3 separate regions of the Homo sapiens genome follow, and all the other regions are linked to region 3. Evidence: promoter capture Hi-C in human tissues and cell types (Jung and others, 2019). All regions are on one chromosome and are shown on one strand. The core of a region is centred on a gene start or on the middle of the fragment in contact, and the rest is flanking DNA. Distances in the headings are between cores, read along the strand shown.

Region 1 (2,700 bases), core at 59-2,558, 420 kb after region 3:
TGGTTACCAGAGGCTGGGAAGGGTAATTGGGAGAGGGGTAGGGGAGTGAGGATGGTTAATGGGTCCAAAAAAATAGAAAGAATGAGTAACACCTGATATTTGACAGCATAACAGGGTGATGACAGTCAATAATAATTTAATTGTACATTTAAAAGCAACAAAGAGTACAATTGGATTGTTTGTAACACAAAGGAAAAATGCTTGAGGTGATGGATACCTGGTTTATCCTGATGTGATTATTACACATTGTATGCTAGTATCAAAATATCTTATGCAGCCCATAAATATACATAACTACTATGTCTCCACAAAAATTAAAAGTTAAAATTAAAAAAAGAGAAATGATTAAGCTTAGTGAGGGAGGCATGTTGAAAGCCAAGAAAGGTCAAAAGCTAGGCATCTTGCACCAAACAGCCAAGTGGTGAATGCAAAGAAAAACTTCTTGAAGGAAATTAAAAGTGCTAATTCAGAACACATGAATGATAAGAAAACAAAAGAGCCTTATTGCTGATACAGAGAAAGTTTGAGTGGTCTGGATAGAAGATCAAACCAGCTGCAACATTCCCATAAACCGAAACCGAATCCAGAGCAAGCCCCTAACTCTCTTCAATTCTATGAAGACAGAGAGGTGAAGAAGCTGCAGAAGAAAAGTTTGAAGTTATCAGAGGTTGGTTTATGAGGGTTAAGGAAAGAAGCCATCTCTATAGCATAAAAATGCAAAGTGAAGCAGCAAGTGCTGATGGAGAAGCTGCAGCAAGTTCTCCAGAAGATCTAGCTAAGATCACTGATGAAGGTGGCTACACTAAAAAACAGATCTTCAATGTAGACAAAACAGCCTTCTATTGGGAGATGATGCCATTAAGGACTTTCGCAGATAGAGAGAAGTCAATGCTTGGCTTCAAAGCTTCAAATGATAGGCTGACTCTCTTGTTAGTAGCTAAGGTAGTTGGTGACTTTAAGTTGAAGCCAATGCATATTTCCCATTTCTCAAGTCTTAGAGCCCTTTAGAATTATGTTACATCTCTTTGGCCTGTGCTCCATAAATGTAACAACAAAGCCTGGATGACAGCACATCTGCTTATAGCAAGGTTTACTGATTATTTTAAGCCCACTGTTGAGAACTGTGCTCAGAATAAAAAAGATTCCTTTCAAAATATTACTGCTCATCGACAAAACACCAGGTCACTCAGAAACTCTGATGAAGATGTACAAGGAGACAAATGTTGTTCCTATCCCTGCTAACACAGTATCCATTCTGTAGCCCATGGATCAAAGAGTAACTTTGACTTTCAAGTCTTATTATTTAAGAAATACATTTTGTAAGGCTATAGCTGCCATAAATAGTAATTCCTCTGATAGGTCTGGGAAAAATACATTGAAAACCTCCTAGAAAGAACTTACTATTCTAGATTACATCAAGAATGCTTGTGATTCAGGAGAAGAGGTCAAAATATCAACATTAATAATAATTTAGAAGAAGTTGATTCCAACTTTTATGGATAACTTTGAGAGACTCAAGGCTTCGGTGGAGGAAGTAACTGCAGATGTGATAGAAATAGCAAGACAACTAGAATTAGAAGTGGAGCCTGAAGGTGTGCCTGAACTGCTGCAATCTCATGAGAAGACTTTAATGAGTGTGGAGTTACTTTTTATGAATGCTCAAAGAGAGCAATTTATTGAGATGGCAACTACTTCTGGGGAAGAGTCTATCAACATCGTTAAAATGACGACAAAGGATTTAGAATATTACATAAATTTAGTTGATAAAGCAACTGCAGGGTTTGAGAGGATTGACTCCAATTTTGAACGTTCTACTGTGGGATAAATGCTATCAAACAGCATCACATGCTACAAAGAAAGCTTTCATGAAAGGAAGAGTTGATTGATGCAGCCAACTTCATTGTTGTTTTATTTTAAGAAATTGCCACAGTCACCCCGAACTTCAGCAAACTACCACTCACATCAGTCAGTAGCCATCAACACTGAGGTAAGACCCTCCCACCAGCAAAAAGATTACGACTCACTGAAAGCTCAGATGATCATCAATATTTTTTAGCAATAAAGTATTTTAAAATTAAGGTATGTACATTTATAGACATAATGCTATTGCCCACTTAATTGATGACAGTATAGAGGAAACATAACTTTTATATGCACTGGGAAACCAAAAAATTCATATGACTCACTTAATTGCAATATTAGCTTTATTGTAGTGGTCTGATACTGAAGTTGCATTATCTCTGAGATATGCCTGTATATCTTCCTTTGAATGCTTCTTCGGTCATAGTTCACAGATTTTTTATTTTTTGTGCCCTCATTGTTATTCATTAGAAATAATTTATAATTTCTACTTTAATTTTTCTTTTGAACCCAATAGATAGTTAAAAGAGTAGGTTTTGAATATTCATGTCTATAGGGGTTTTGTTGGTAATGAGGTTTTTGTTTGTTTGGCTATTCTTTGGCGATTTCTAGTTTTATTGCATTGTGGTCTGTGAACACATTTCTGCCATTTAGAATATAGTGGAATTTCCTCTGAGAATTCTGCGGGGATGGTTGTTGAATACATCTGTGCTGCCTTCATCCTTCAATTTAAAACCAGCTACTGAACCTTTTGTGAGCCAAGCAGCTTCTGGGGTTTAGAGATCTAGTGCATCTCTGGGGTCCAGAAGAAGGGAGTTGGCAGAGCAAGTTTCTGCTTCT
Region 2 (2,700 bases), core at 83-2,582, 300 kb after region 3:
CCAAGGAGCGAGCACCTCGGAAGACCTGAGCAGCTTCAAACAGCAGCTTCTCTGCCCGCCACAAGGGGGTGCCCTGCACCTCGGGGAGACCTCGGGGGATCCTGGATCAGCCCTACCCTCTGCAGCCCCGCCTGGGACAGGGCCCGACGTTGCCAGAGAAGAGGCAGCGGGGAGGCGCGAGCGAGACGGGTCCACACTGTGCCCACCCAGGGCTGCCCGGCACCCCGCGCGCCCACGCAGTCCACTCTTCACAGTAAACGCCGCGGCCCCCGAGGGTTAGCCCTAAGTGGCGCTCTCTTTGGACGTTAGGCTGTCGGGGGCCCCGTCCTTCTTCCCCAGCGGGGACGGTGTCTCCGGAGTCGGGTCCTAAGGAAGAGAGCAGCGCTGGCTCTCGCTCACCGCCAGCCCGCCCGACGGCCATAGGGCAGGGGGGGTCGCGCCGGTGGGGCCGGCAGGGGTCCCTGTGGGCCGCCTCCCCGGCTCAGAGGGGACCAGAACCGTGCGTGTCGCCGCGGCTGGAGTCAGCCTCCGGGTGTCCCCGGACGCGGCACGACCTCGCACACACACACCGCGCGCACACGCTCGCGCCGTGCGGTATTTTCCCGGCCCCGGACCCCGCCTCTGGGAGGGGCCGGGGAGCCGAGCCCCGCTAGCAGGGTTGGGGGACCGGGAACGCCTGGGTCCCAGCCCTCGCGTCAGGGCTGTGCGCCACCTTCCCAGCCCCTTTTGGCGCGCCGGCTCGGCCCCTGGCGCTGCCACCCCTCGGCCCGCGGGGGTCCCGGAGGCTCCCGGGCGCGCGGCGGACGAGGTTGTGGGGACGGGTGGGAGCTGCGGGCTTCGGGCCGAGAGGCGGCTCGGCTCCGCGCCGGGGAAAGTTTGGACGTGGGAAACTCCCTCCCCGCCCTCCCGGCCGAGAGGAGGGGGCGCGCAGGGCCGGGCGCAGGCACCCCGGCTCCTCCTGCGGCTGGAGGCTCGCCCCCCGCGCCGCCTGCCCGGCCGCTCCCGCCGGCCAGGGGGCTCCCTCCCTGCCGGGCAGCCTCCCCTCGGCGGCGATCCGGCCGCTCCTCCCGCGGCACCCCGCGCTCTTACCTCGGGGAGCGGCCCGGGGCTCCCCCTAGTCCTGCCGCCTCGGGACGCTGCGTGGGGCGGGAGCCCCGGCGCGGGCAGCGGGCGAGTCCGGAGCCCCGCGGCCGCCCGCAGGAGCCGGAGGGAGAGCGGGAGCGAGAGGGGGAGCCGCGGCGGCGTGTGCGCGCGTGTGTGTGAGCGAGAGAGCGAGAGAGCGAGAGAGCGAGGGAGTGAGCGAGCGAGCGGGAGCGAGGGAGTGTGCGTGTCTGACTGGGGGGAAGTGTGCAAGGGACGGATCCCTTCCTTCCTCCCGCAGCCTCTGGTGGAGACTCGGAGAATGCAGGGCCCGCCGGGCAGGAGCCGCGCAGCGCCAAGCCGCAGGCGGCCGCCGGCCCGGACCCCCGCAGCCGGGGAACCCCAGCCCCCGCCCCCCGGATCGCGCCCCTCCTACACCAGGAGGGGACAGCCTTTCCCTCTCTCGGGCGGCCCAGTCCCAGGAAACCCCCCAGGGGACAGTGCCCCTCCCTCCTCCAACCCCAGATCCGCGCGAAGGGAGCGCCCCCAGGAGGGGGACCATCTACCTCCTCGCCTGGCAGCTCCCCAGGTGGCCGCAGTTTGAGACCAGAGCCTATTTCCCCACCTGATTTTACTGCGAATAGGGCTTCCCATTTCCGCCCCCTGACTACTGCGGGAGGCCGCCTTCAGAGGAGCAGGGGCGCAGGCCAGGGTAGGAGCAGGCTTCTCGAACAGTGGCCGCCCCGGCTTGCTGCCCAGAAAGGCACCTTGCACAGACCAGATCTGCCAGTTCAGAAACAGTCACTGTGCATTGAGGTGGACACCGACCAGGTGCCCAGGGCTGAGTCTCCAGGCAGGTGGGAGGTCGGGTGTCCCCGGGAGAGAAACTTGTGGGCTTTTCCTCTGGAGAGTCCCGCTGGACATCCTTGCAACCAACAAAGTAAGCAGGCAAAACAAGACACCTCCATCCTTAACTTGGTGCCACCTTGACCTGGAGAAGTCTCCCAATAAAATCTTCCCACTGCCCAGAAACTCCTTGCTGGTTGGGTTTTCCGTTCTTTTAAAAATCCGGCTGGTCTGCTCCCTGATGTTTTTTCCACCTGGCCCTGTTTCTTTCTCCTGGCTGCCTGGCTCTCCTTACTACTTCATCTCTCTGGGATGAGGCCTAATGGAGGAGACCCTCCCACCCCACTCCTGAGTTCCCAATATGAGGTCGTTGATGGTAGGATAGGACCAGTGACTCCCATAGACCCACCCTTTGTCTTGGGTTGTAGGTCCCCTTAGGAGTTGCCCGCCCCCCTATTCCCCATGGCTTCCAGATAGGTGAGTGAAGGATAACAGGAGACTGGACAGCTGCAGACCTCTGTCCCGCCAAGCTGCCAATGACCAGCCATTTAATCACCCACAAGCAGCTGCTGAAGTTCATGGCAAAGAGGGGGCAGGGCCCTCCAGGACCCCCAGCTCTACCTCGCCCCTATCCTTCTCTCCTCCTCGCCTCCTTCCCCAATTTCCATCTCCATCTCCACACCCTAGTCCGTCTTGCTGATGATTGGAATCACCTCTCCTGCTGGCTGCCCCTCTGGCCCCTCCTACTAAACTCCATCATTCATTTATTTATTT
Region 3 (2,700 bases), core at 29-2,528:
GCATAAGTGTGATAATTGGGGCTGGAGATTTGGCTGCATGGAGCAGGGCTGGAGAACTGAAAGGGCTCCTATAGATTATTTTCCCCCATATCCTGCCCCAATTTGCAGTTGAAGAATCCTAAGCTGACAAAGGGGAAGGCATTTACTCCAGGTTACACTGCAGCTTAGAGCCCAATAACCTGGTTTGGTGATTCCAAGTTAGAATCATGGTCTTTTGGCAGGGTCTCGCTCTGTTGCCCAGGCTGGAGTGCAGTGACATAATCATGGCTCACTGTATCCTTGACCTTCTTTCTGGGCTCAAGCAATCCTCCCACCTCGGCCTCCCAAAGTGCTAAGATTACAGGAATGAGCCACCATACCTGGCCCTGAATCTTGGGTCTTGGCCTTAGTAATTAAAACCAATCACCACCATCCGTTGCGGACTTACAACCTACAGTGTTCTAAACATTTTATATGTTTGATCTCATTTAATCCTCACATCAATTTAGGGACAAAGAGCCCCCCACCCCCCGTTTTTTTTTTTACAGCTGAGGAAACACTTCAAAGTGGTAAGACATTTGCCCGAGGTCCTGAAGGAAGAGAGTAAAGCCATGTCTGCTGTTTTCTAGAGGCTGCTACTGTCCCCTTTACTGCCCTGAAGATTCAGCCTGCGGAAGACAGGGGGTTGCCCCAGTGGAATTCCCCAGCCTTGCCTAGCAGAGCCCATTCCTTCCGCCCCCAGATGAAGCAGGGAGAGGAAGCTGAGTCAAAGAAGGCTGTCAGGGAGGGAAAAAGAGGACAGAGCCTGGAGTGTGGGGAGGGGTTTGGGGAGGATATCTGACCTGGGAGGGGGTGTTGCAAAAGGCCAAGGATGGGCCAGGGGGATCATTAGTTTCAGAAAGAAGTCTCAGGGAGTCTTCCATCACTTTCCCTTGGCTGACCACTGGAGGCTTTCAGACCAAGGGATGGGGGATCCCTCCAGCTTCATCCCCCTCCCTCCCTTTCATACAGTTCCCACAAGCTCTGCAGTTTGCAAAACCCTACCCCTCCCCTGAGGGCCTGCGGTTTCCTGCGGGTCTGGGGTCTTGCCTGACTTGGCAGTGGAGACTGCGGGCAGTGGAGAGAGGAGGAGGTGGTGTAAGCCCTTTCTCATGCTGGTGCTGCCACACACACACACACACACACACACACACACACACACACACACACACCCTGACCCCTGAGTCAGCACTTGCCTGTCAAGGAGGGGTGGGGTCACAGGAGCGCCTCCTTAAAGCCCCCACAACAGCAGCTGCAGTCAGACACCTCTGCCCTCACCATGAGCCTCTGGCAGCCCCTGGTCCTGGTGCTCCTGGTGCTGGGCTGCTGCTTTGCTGCCCCCAGACAGCGCCAGTCCACCCTTGTGCTCTTCCCTGGAGACCTGAGAACCAATCTCACCGACAGGCAGCTGGCAGAGGTGGGCAAACACCTAGTCTAGAGTTGGGGAGGGCTGTCCGTGAGGGTGTTGAGTGTCCCAGAGAGGATGCAGGGCCTCAGAGGAGATGCTTTAGGGGTGTGTTGGTGGTGATGGGCGTATCTGAAGAACAGAGGTGTCCAGGGTTAGGCAGTGGGGGGTCTTGTGGAGGCTTTGAGCAGTGATGGCCAGAAATGGGCAATGGGGCTTTCCTAGGTGGGAAATGGGAAATGGTTTGGGGTGGGGGAGGCATTGGAGGGTTCTGGGGTAAGCATAGGCTGGGAGTGAACAGGGGCAAACCTTATGCAGCTGTGGGGTAGAAATGGGCTAGAGGCATCCAGGGGTGAGAAGGAGCTGAGGATGTCTAAGGAGGGGAGATCCCTGGGTGGTCAGAAAGCACTGGTGTCTGGAAAGCATTTAATGCTTTATTAAATGTTAGTCCCTGCTGGGCATGACGGCTCACACTTGTAATCCCAGCACTTTGGGAGGCTGAGGTGGTAGGATCGCTGAAGCTCAGGAGTTTGAGCCCAGCCTAGGCAACATAGTAAGATCCTGTCTCTACAAAAAAATTAAAGAAATAGCCAGGCACAGTGATGTGCACCTGTAGTTCCAGCTATGCAGAAGGCTGAGATGGGAGGATCGCTTGAGTCCAGGAGGTCCAGGCTGCAGTGGGCTGATACCGTCTCTCCGAAAAAGAAAAAGAAAAAAGACTCCCTCCATGAGTGTCTGGAGGGAGTCCTTTGGCCCCAGCTGGGCAGAGAAAGGGGTCAGAGATCTGGCATGTGTGTGTCCCTTCATCCACAGGAATACCTGTACCGCTATGGTTACACTCGGGTGGCAGAGATGCGTGGAGAGTCGAAATCTCTGGGGCCTGCGCTGCTGCTTCTCCAGAAGCAACTGTCCCTGCCCGAGACCGGTGAGCTGGATAGCGCCACGCTGAAGGCCATGCGAACCCCACGGTGCGGGGTCCCAGACCTGGGCAGATTCCAAACCTTTGAGGGCGACCTCAAGTGGCACCACCACAACATCACCTATTGGTGAGCCGGGGCCGTGGGGGCAGCGGGGTGGGGCGGGGAGGCCAGGTCTGGCTCTTGGGCCAGCGGTGAACATGTCCTGTCTTGGACGCGTCCCTGGGTTTCACTATTTAATGTGTGGCCCCTGGGGAGTGTCCCCACCTCTGAGCCTCTGTTTCTCCTTCAGGGAAATGGCTCTTGCAATCCAAGTCCTCCTGCCAGGGCCATTGTGAGGGTCTAAGTAGACAAAAAAAA

Evidence for each region. The method cuts DNA at HindIII sites, captures the fragments that hold promoters and counts their contacts. A contact is called where the count stands out against the background at its distance.
Region 1: a fragment that was not itself captured here is called in contact with the fragment with the promoter of MMP9 in region 3 in 1 of the 25 tissues and cell types used here (pancreas).
Region 2: the fragment with the promoter of CDH22 here is called in contact with the fragment with the promoter of MMP9 in region 3 in 1 of the 25 tissues and cell types used here (neural progenitor cells).

Annotation. Positions count from the first base shown.
Region 1 is chr20:46,428,206-46,430,905 of GRCh38, forward strand. All of the region lies in intron 2 of LOC105372633 (a long non-coding RNA gene), which reads left to right. Among named protein-coding and RNA genes, the nearest start is that of ELMO2, 23 kb to the left of the region's middle. The HindIII fragment of the contact is 3,067 bases long and covers 1-2,700 here.
Region 2 is chr20:46,307,166-46,309,865 of GRCh38, forward strand. It overlaps CDH22 (cadherin 22), which reads right to left and starts at 1,333. Exons shown (of 12, transcript NM_021248.3): 1 at 1,090-1,333. The HindIII fragment of the contact is 29,361 bases long and covers 1-2,700 here.
Region 3 is chr20:46,007,630-46,010,329 of GRCh38, forward strand. It overlaps MMP9 (matrix metallopeptidase 9), which reads left to right and starts at 1,279. Exons shown (of 13, transcript NM_004994.3): 1 at 1,279-1,435; 2 at 2,237-2,469. The coding sequence starts at 1,298. The HindIII fragment of the contact is 9,924 bases long and covers 1-2,700 here.